Regions from separate parts of the Homo sapiens genome. Here region 1 is linked to region 2. The links are contacts of gene promoters, found by promoter capture Hi-C in human tissues and cell types (Jung and others, 2019). All regions are on one chromosome and are shown on one strand. The core of a region is centred on a gene start or on the middle of the fragment in contact, and the rest is flanking DNA. Distances in the headings are between cores, read along the strand shown. Region 1 overlaps GMNN (geminin DNA replication inhibitor). Region 2 holds the start of SLC17A2 (solute carrier family 17 member 2).

Region 1 (5,134 bases), core at 1,430-3,929, 1.1 Mb after region 2:
TACAGCTTACTGTCATTTTAATAATGTTTGGGAAAGACAGAAATTAAATGGCTCTGTTCAATTAACATGTTTAACCAGAAATTGCTGAAGGCCTCTCTGTGACAATGTTTACAGAAATTTTGGTTAACATTTTATCTACAGAAGATTAGCTTATAAGGTAGTCTAATAATATGTTCTATTCAAATTCCTTTTTGGTCTCTGGAACCTCTTTAAGTTGAAGGAGGTAAGATACAAGGTTCAGATTCGAGCTGAGGCATTTTTACTGTAAACCTTGAATTTTAAGCTGGCTTACCAAAGCTTTAACAACAGTGATTTTGTTTTCCTTTGCTGTCCCTCCTAAGTTCATCTCTCCCAACTTTTGAGTTTTGCTAGAAGCAAATCAGAGGATTTGCTTAAGGATTTGAAAGATATTATTTGGGAGGTGATCTCGGGAACTAGCAATAGGGAAGGGAAGAAAGCCAATAAAAGATGTATTATGAAGAAAGCTGCCACTGTAGGTAAACGGAAGCTTAATCCTGCTGGGGAACCATCTGGTAAACACACAACACACATGCCTTAAGAATTATTTCATCCAGAGGTCCCAAGGAGCTCAGATATGTATACACCAATTCTTATCCTTCTTGGTTGACCTAACAACCTAATTAGTTACAACCTAAAAGTCAACTGAAATATCTTGAAGGGTGTGGGATAGGCAAGGAAGTTTTCTAAACAAACCAAAATTACGAGGGCCGTAAGGCAGTGTGGTGGACGTTTGTTGCGTTTTGGCTCACTAGAATTTATTCTTTCTTCTAATAACACGTCAGTTTATTTGGGGGAGATATCTTACCCATGGTGTAGTCTTAAAATTCATTTCTATCTGCTCTTGGATTAGCTTTTCTCTTCCCTTCCTATAATTATCCTTTATTTGGTCTCATTGCATCCACCTCCAAAAGAATTGGAAATAATTGTGGTCCATCCTTTTCTAGCTCTTGACCTTGAAACTAATTCCAAAGCTTCACCATTAAGCATTATGTTAAGCATGGGTAGCATAGTTTATTTCAGGTTAAAATTCTTTTCTTTTCCTAGCTTACCAAGGGTTTTTACCAGAAAGGGTGTTGAATTTTATCAATGCTATTTTACCATCTATTAAGATGATATGCTTTTTCCCCTTTAATATAAAGAACTTCATGTTTACTAATATTATAGCAGTCTTGCATTCCTGAGATAAACCCTAACTTGGTCATCGTTTTATCTTTTAGTAGATTAGACTTGCCATTTTATTTATGATTTTTCAATCTGTATTAATAAGGCTCTAGATTCCCCTACTCCAACCTTACGGTCCATCCTCATTACCTTCTTTTTTTTTTTTTTTTTTTTTTTTTTGAGATGAGGTTTCGCTCGTTGCCCAGGCTGGAGTGCAAAGACGCGACCTTGGCTCACTGCATCCTCTACCTCCTGGGTTCAAGCAATTCTCCTGCCTCAGCTTCCCAAATAGCTGGGACTACAGGCATGCACCATCACGCCTGGCTAATTTTGTATTTTTAGTAGACAGGTTTTCACCATGTTTGTCAGGCTGGTCCTGAATTCCTGACCTCAGGTGATCTGCCCACCTGGGCCTCCCAAAGTGCTGGGATTACAGGCATAAGCCACCACACCTGGCTGGTCCATCCTCAAATCTTGATATCAGTTATGCTAGCCTTGTAAAATATATTGACAAATTAGTTCAGTCTAATCCAGGCTTCATGCATACTGTTTTTCCAACTGATTCTTATCCATTTGCCATTTCCTTAACGAAGCTCGACTGCATTTTATTAAACCAACTTCAAAGAACTTGTTCTAATGGGCCAGGCTTGATTGACTCCCTGACCCCTTCTCCAAGGTATTTTCATTGACATGTTTTTTGTTTTGTTGAGACAGAGCCTCACTCTGTTGCCGAGGCTGGAGTGCAGTGGCGCAATCTATGCTCACTGCAACTTCTGCCTCCCAGATTCAAGCAATTCTTGTGTGCCTCAGCCTCCCGAAGAGCTGTGACTACAGGTGTGCACCACCACGCCCAACTAATCTTTTGTATTTTTAGTAGACAAAGCATTTTGCCATGTTAGCCAGGCTGATGTTGAACTCCTGTCCTCAAGTGATCTGCCTGCCTCAGCCTCCCAAAGTGTAGGGATTACAGGCGTAGCCATCACACCCGGCTGACATGCTATACTAACATTTGATACCTAATTAAAAATCAGACTCATCTTCCACAGGAAATTCCTACAAATTCTCCATCACTAGGGTCAGTTCCCAGGGACTAGAAGCTTAAAATATGTCCCCCAAAACAGCCCCTACATGACCCTTAGGCAACTACTAATCTGCTTTCTCATTATACTTTGTAGTTTTGTGATTTTAAATAAATAGAAGCATACAGTATGTATTTACCTGGCTTCTTTCACACAACATTGAGATTCGTCCATGTGGCGTGTACCAATTTTTGTCCCCTTTTTATTGCTAAATAGTATTCCACTGTATAGTTATACCATAATTTATCCACTCAGTTACCAATGGATATTTGGGCTATTACAAATAAAGCTATGAAAATGTGTGAACTAGTCTTCATGTGGACATATGCTTTCGTTTCTCTTGGGTAAATACCCAGGGGTGGAATGGCTGAGTCATATAAAATGTGTATGTATAACTTTTAAGGAATTGTTCAACTTTTCCACAGCAGTTGTAGCATTTAGCACTGCCACCACCACTGCAGGAGGGTTTCAGATGTTTCACATCCTTAACACTCGATGGAGTTGTTTTTATTTTTCAAACTTAAAACAATTCTGAAAGGTATGTAGCAGTATCTGGTTGTCATTTAATTTGCACTTCCTTAATGACTAATGTTGAGCATCTTTTCATGCACTTAGTTTCCATCTCATACATACCCTAGTTCTTTATAGATACAAATCCTTTGTTGGCTATGTTCTGCAAATATGTTCCCCCAGTCTGTTCTTGCCTTTTCATTTGCTTGTCTTTCAAAAAGTTTTTAAAATTTACAACGTTTAATTTGAAGTTGATGCTTTTTTGTGTCCTATTTGAGAACTCTCTGCCAAACCCAAAGTCACTAAGAACTTTTCTATATAATCTAGAAGTTTTATGGTTTTAGCTACTACCTTAGTTTTTTAATCCCCTTCAATTCCCTCTCCTTTTGCTCCCCACCATCAAATTCTGGCATTTTACAAAAATACTTTCTATTTGTCAAGTCCCTATTCTACTTACCTATTTTCTTTCTTAACCATGCTAAAGGCCTCTCAACTGAGTCTCCTCATGCTCTAATCCAGAATATTCTTCAATTCCTTTAAAATTAATTTACCTATTAATCCTATCTTTAGGCTAGTGATCCACACCTGAAACACACAGAGCCACACTAACGTAATTGCCACTAGCTTCTTGTAGTGACTTAAATTAAAATGTCCATACCTCATTCACACTAGCCACACTTCAAGTGCTAAACAGCCACACAGAAATGGCTACCATACTGTACAGCAGATATTCTCATCATCCCAATAAGTTCTACTGGACAATGTTGTTATAGATTAATAATAGCTTCCATTTTTAAGACACTTAGCCTAGACACTAAAGGTTTTAATCTTCACGATAACACTATGAGGTAGGCTTTATCTCAGTATTAAAGAAAATTAAGGCCAGGCACGGTGGCTCACGCCTGTAATCCCAACACTCTGGAGGCCGAAGCAGGCGGATCGCTTGATGCCAGGAATTCAAGACCAGCCTGGGCAACATGGCGAAACCCCGTCTATATAAAAAATTAGCCAGGTGTGGTGGCACGCACCTGTAGTCTCAGCTACTTGGGAGGCTGAAGTGGGAAGATGACTTGCGCCCATCAGGTGGAGGCTGAAGTGAGCTGAGATTGCACCCCTGCACTCCCGCCTGGGTGACAGAGAGAGAAAATTAAGGTTCTATAAGGATGCTTACCTAAAACAATCCTTTCAAAAGCTTGAGGCCAGGCGTGGTGCCTCACACCTGTCATCCCAGCACTTTGGGAGGCTGAGGTGGGCGGATCACTTGGGGTCAGGAGTTCGAGACCAGCCTGGCCAACATGGTGAAACCCCGGCTCTACTAAAAATACAAAAACTAGCCAGGTGTGGTGGCAGGCACCTGTAATCGCAGCTACTCAGGAGGCTGAGGCAGAATCACTTGAACCAGGGAGGCAGAGGTTGCAGTGAGCCAAGATCATGCCATTGCACTCCAGCCTGGGCAACAAGAGCAAGACTCCGTCTCAAAGGAAAAAAAATAAAAGCATGACATTGCTCTTTATTGCCAATTTATACAAAACTACTTGTATGCCTCTCACAGAACTTTTTCAGTTCCAATGCTACATACCCCTAGTTTGTACTTTTCCTCCTTCAAAACTTAGTATATATGGGAAATCCCTAATGAATCTGACCCTACTCTTATTCTTCAATATTTACATACTTTGCACTATACCAATATGTGAAATAGAAAAGCTCCATAATTTTCAGCTATTCCTGATTTTTTCCGTCAAACTTCTACCCACTCCTCACTTTGTTTCTTGAGGATTATCACCATCATCCATCATTTTAAGCTTCCAAGAAGAGTCTGATCCTGCTAGCCAGTTGGGCCTCTCACTGTCTAATCAGATTCACTTGAAAAGCTTTTGGAAAATAGATTCTCATGCTCCATTCCAAAAACAACTTGTTAATATCAATAGTGTCTACAATGAGCTTGAGGTACAACAAAGTTTGGGAGTTAAAAACCTCAGCTATCTCAGTCTAAATACTTTAAGTTCGTTTTCTCCTTGTCTCCTCCAAGGTAGTTAGCAAAAGAATGGAAAGAGAACAACATAAAAGCATAGAAACAGACAAATTTTCTACACATACTCCTTATATTTCATTATTCTAAGTTATACACAATGTTCAACAGGAGTTTGAAGTTTATTTAGTAATAAACATAAGTCATGGCTGACAACTGAGAAAATCCTATTCACATAAACCATCATAGATTAAAAATACATAGTATTTGTACTTTAATGCAATAGGGTCCCAGGATTCAAACAAGGAAATTTGATTCCAGAGTTGGCATTATGTAGTTATGTACTCTGCTACAAAGAACTAGTGGAGGTAAACTTCGGCAGTAAAATTCTCAA
Region 2 (5,182 bases), core at 1,107-3,606:
AGATTAAGGCCCTGGCAAATTTAGTGTCTGGTGAGGACAGGTAGCCATCTTTTTGCTGAGTCCTAACATGGCAGAAGGGTTGAATAAACTTCCTTGGGTTTCTTTTATAAGGACACTAATCCTAGTGATGAGGTTTCTGCCCTCATGGTATAACTACTGCCCAAAGACCCCTCCTTCTAATATTATCACTTTGTGGGTTAGGATTTCAACATGAGTTTTGAGAGGATACAGACATTTGGATCATAGCACACACCATAGGACAGACACTGTGCCAAGAATTGTGGATATAGTGATTCTCAAAATGAACAAGATCCCCTCAGAGAGCTTGCAAAATCCAGCTATAAAATTATGCTTTTTAAACAAATTATGCAGTTTGAAAAATCTACTCTGAATCTTACTTGTGGCATTGAATACTTTCGGCCACTCTTTCCTTATTATATTAAATATTTACTCTTGTTTGGGGGATCCAGTCTCACCTACTTTTTCTACCAGAACTGGTATCAGCTCATGCTCTGCCTTATGCAAATTAAGAAAATATCATACCTTTTGGGTAAATTAAGCCAAGAAAGTTCTCCTTTCTTCTCTTTCTCTCTTTCTTTCTTTCTCTCTTTCTCTTTCTTTCTTTCTCTCTCTCTCTTTCTTTCTTTCTTTCTTTCTTTCTTTCTTTCTTTCTTTCTTTTTCTTTCTGACAGGGTCTTGCTCTATTGCCTAGGCTGGAGTGCAGTGGTGCAATCTCAGCTCACTGCAGCCTTGAACTCCAGGGCTCAAGCAATCCTCCTGAGTAGCTGGGACTATAGGCATGTGCCACAACATCAAGCTAATTTTTGCATTTTTTTGTGGAGACGGGATCTCCCTATGTTGCTAAGGCTGGTCTTGGATTCCTGGGCTTATGCGATTCTCCTGCCTCAGCCTCCCAAAGTCCTGGGATTACAGGCATGAGCCACTGCCCCTGGCCATTATAACTATTTTCATTGGCTTATCAGGCACATGATAACTATAATAAATCAATAACCAGAATTTTTAAATAAAGAAAGGAAGGAATTGTTTCAACTCTTCCTGCTACCCCTCTATCCCTCAAAAGGGTAGGCTGAATGTTGTCCTCCAAAGATATCCATGTCCTAATCCCCAGAACCTGTAAATATATTACCTTATATGACAAAAGGGACTTTACATGTTTAATAAGTTAAGAATTTTGAGATGGGCAGATTTTCCTGAATTTTGCAGATGGGCCCTAGTGTAATCACAAGGGTCCTTATAAGAGACAGGCAGAAGAGTCAGAATAAGAGAAAAATACTTCAAGATGTTACACTGCTGGCTTTAAGGTGGAGGAAAGGCCAAGAGCCAAAAAATGCAGTGGTCACTACAAGCTGAAAAGAAAAAGAAATGGATTTTCCCCTAAAGCCTCTGGAGGGGGCACAACCTTGCCAATACCTTGATTTTGGCTCAGTGAAACCCATTTTGGACTTCTGACCTTTAGAATTGTAAATAAATAAATAATTTTGTGTTGTTTCAAGCCATCACAGTTGTGGTAATTTACTACAACAGCAATAAAATAGAATTAAATACAGAGATCTGAGGAGTTGAGTAGGATAAGCCTACTCCAGCAGGTTATTTCGGGAGTATGGTGAGACTCACTAGGATGGCGGAACTCAATTAAGGAAGTCTGAAGCTGATAAGCCAGAGAGGGAAGGCTCTCATTTCATTTTATAAGGGTTGCGTCACACTAGGAAGATCCAATAGCAACCACAGTCTCAAAATTAATGATTACAAATAGGACACAATTCCAAGAGTCGGGAGCCAAGCAGAAAATGGATTAGGGAAGACATGGATGATATGAAACAGGAAGGAGGGGTACAAGGCAGCTTCCTGGGAAGTTGCCAGGGCAGTCACAGTTCACATTCATTAGGCTGTGGGCACCAAATGCATATGGAAAATCTAGCTGACTTAACTGAACTCCTGAAGAGGAATGAACACCTCATTTATTGAGGAGCTACTACCAATTAGAATATGTATTTCATTTGTTCAATAACCCCATGAGTACAGTAACACAATCCTTGCTTTACTAAAGCGGAAGCCAATTCAAAGAGGTTCAGTGACTTGTCCAAGCTCAGGGAAAACACTAGGAAGTGAATATGGGTCTGACTCCATCACTGATTTCAGGAGCCCTGCCCTTTCCTCCACACCATGCCCCCTTGCTTTCAGAAAAAAAGGCTTGTTGACTGAATGGTTGTATGCACAGTTCAAAGCAGAAACACACGATGACATCTTTTGAGATACTCTAACAGTGAGAACTTGAAAATGAAGTTAAAAATTAAGCGGCAAAACCAAGCCGAGGCTTTCTGAGAAAGTGGGGCCAAACCTGTTGCCGTCTGACTGCCACGTGGCTCACTATTTATCCCTGTAAAAATCTGCAAAAGTATTTGAAAGGGAAGAAGGGACAGAAAACTCCCTCCTTTTCCAAGTTAGCCTTATAGTCTAGGGCTTAAAATACTGGTTTAATGGTGAAGGTAAGTGCTTTTCTTCTTTTTGGGTAGAAGGATTATTACTAACTTACCAAAGGTCCATTAAGGGGAGGGAACAGTTTTAGGAGAAGTCAGAGAAAAGACATTAACAGCAACATAAGGATCTCCATCTGGTAATATTGCCTAATTCCAAAATGAAGAGACTCTCTGAAAAAGATAACTGATTCAATGAAGACCCTAGGGCAAGGCTTGAGAAGCCACTGGTACCAATGGACACTGTGGACAATGGTCATTTCTCCAAGGACGCTGTGAGTATTAACTGTGATGCTGTGATTAGTCAGACTGGGATTGGCTGTGGAATGAAATACTGATCAGAACTGACAAGATTTGTGTTTGGGACTGTGGCTAACGAGTCTTTTCAGACTTCTATATGAATTTGAAATGGTCTCTCAGGAAAAGGAGAACATGGCCGGGCCTGGTGGCTCACGCCTGTAATCCCAGCACTTTGGCAGGCTGAGGCGGGCAGATCACTTGAGGTCAGGAGTTTGAGACCAGCCTGGCCAACATGGTGAAACCCTGTCTCCACTAAAAATACAAAAATTAGCAGGGCGTAGCGGCGCGTGCACCTATGCGCATGCATAGTGCGCGTGCCAGCTATTCAGAAGGCTGAGGCAGGAGAATTGCTTGAACCCAGGACGTAGAGGTTGCAGTAGTTGAGATCATACCACTGCACTCCAGCCTAGGTGACAGAGTAAGACTCTGTCTCAAAAAAATAATAATAATAAAAGAAAAGGAGAACATGACCAAAGTTATGAATAAGACTGAAGGCAAGAAAATTGTACGCTTGTAGAGATCACCTAGCTTGTTGCCCTCATTGTACAGCTAAGAAAAGGCACCCAGGGACATTGTGGTCAGCACCAATTTCTCAGAAAGATAGGCAGATGATGAGAGGGCCCTCAGTTTTTCTAACACTGAAGGAATTGCTTCTATGTTTTCTGGTGAACTCCTCCCCACTCATCTTGAGGATTCCAGGCCAGAAGAATCCACTTTAAAAAAGAAACATTTAAAACCAATTTAACAACCAATCAAAGGCACTTTTATAGAAATACATTTCATTTGCTGTAGGCCTGTATTTATGGATCTGAGAGGGCTAGACTGCCAATATTGTGACTGTTTATTATTATTGCTGTTGCTAGTATCTAGAATATTATACAACATATAACACTTTGCAATTTACGAGGCATGTCTCATACTTTTGTTTTCACTCCAAACTGCCCAGTGAAGTAACATTATCCCAATTCTTCCTATGAAACAGTGAAAGCCCTAAGAGTTTTTGAAACTTTACCTGGTTTACTCAATTTGGGAATGGCAGAGCAGAATTCAGTCCTTGAATATCCTCCCACTGCAGGTTCATGCTCTTTGATCTAGGTGTAACATTTACTCTGAGTAAACTAGGACTCTGGGCTAACAGAGATGAAGCAAGACAGGCTGGATATTAGGAGAATCTAAGAGCAATCTAACGACCATTATAATAAAATCATGAGTTCTAGACTTAAAAAAAGGGAAAAACCTGTTTTTTTGCTTATGCGTATACCATAATATTTACATTATTTATTTTTTTCTCAAATTCAACCTATACTGTGTCAAGTAATTTTTTTTAATATAACATTTTCCTTTAACTTAATTTCAATTCATTTTTCTGTGTCTACTTACAACTTTGGCACTAGAATTCACAATTTTTTTTTAGAGGTATATCTCCTTAAAGGGAAGGGTTCTGACACTGTTACATGTTCTCAATTGTTTGCAAATAGGTTAATAATTATTCCAGTGTCTCTAAGTACATATCAACCATGCCAGTGTTCAGCCTCCATAATTTTATTAGCTTCTGTGCTTATTTTGGAAAAACATTTCCCATTACCATGAAAGACCTCAGTTTAGGATGGTTTGGTATGTTAGCCTGATTTCTGCATTCGTCTCATGCAAAGGAAAATAGGAAACGAAGAACTGAAATTACCTATTGATACAAAATCAAAGTAGCATTTGAAACCATAAAACTTAAGTAGGGCTTTTCATCCTTTCTCGTTAGACAGCAACAGAGAATGGGAAGAAAAACTAAAGTGATGGGTTTGTGATACAATTCCAGTAACATAAAGAGCAAGGAGAAGTAGTTTTGTTGTGTTTATGTTTAATATTCAAAGCTCAACCTAAAAGTATTTTTCATTATCAAACTTCCTTCTAGAATAAATGATTAAAACTTGATTTAAAATATACAAATTCTCCTTTATAATACCTCAAAATGGAGCTACCCCATTGAGTTTTAAGCTTGTGATTAAAATATTACGAAAACAAAGGGGAAGTTGTAATAGGTAGAACAAGCAGTAGTCTAGGCATTAGGGGATCTGGTGCTGGCTCTGTGCATCATGTGGTTTCAGGCAACTTTTCAAATTTTCTACGCAAATTTTCTTATCAATAAAATAAACAGTTGGGCCAGAGGATCTCTGAGTCTCTTTCAGCTTTCAGTGTTTATAAGATTGGAGAAGTTGGTGGGAAAGCTTTAAGTGGAGTGTAAGTAATTGCAGCTGCATGTACAGTTAAAGAGTTGCCTTCAGCCAAGCCACGGGATCTTGCATAAAAAGTGAAATCAAATAGAAAATGGTCCAAACTCTGGGTTTGACCACAGATGACTTCAGCTAGGATCTGAGTGTAGAGCAATGAGCTGA

The links. The method cuts DNA at HindIII sites, captures the fragments that hold promoters and counts their contacts. A contact is called where the count stands out against the background at its distance.
Region 1: a contact is called between a fragment that was not itself captured here and the fragment with the promoter of SLC17A2 in region 2, in 1 of the 25 tissues and cell types used here (adrenal gland).

The regions. Positions count from the first base shown.
Region 1 is chr6:24,785,820-24,790,953 of GRCh38, reverse strand. It overlaps GMNN (geminin DNA replication inhibitor), which reads right to left. Exons shown (of 7, transcript NM_015895.5): 7 at 4,855-5,134. Among named protein-coding and RNA genes, the nearest start is that of ARMH2, 11 kb to the left of the region's middle. The HindIII fragment of the contact is 3,858 bases long and covers 751-4,608 here.
Region 2 is chr6:25,927,865-25,933,046 of GRCh38, reverse strand. It overlaps SLC17A2 (solute carrier family 17 member 2), which reads left to right and starts at 2,356. Exons shown (of 12, transcript NM_001286123.3): 1 at 2,356-2,770. The HindIII fragment of the contact is 8,808 bases long and covers 1-5,182 here.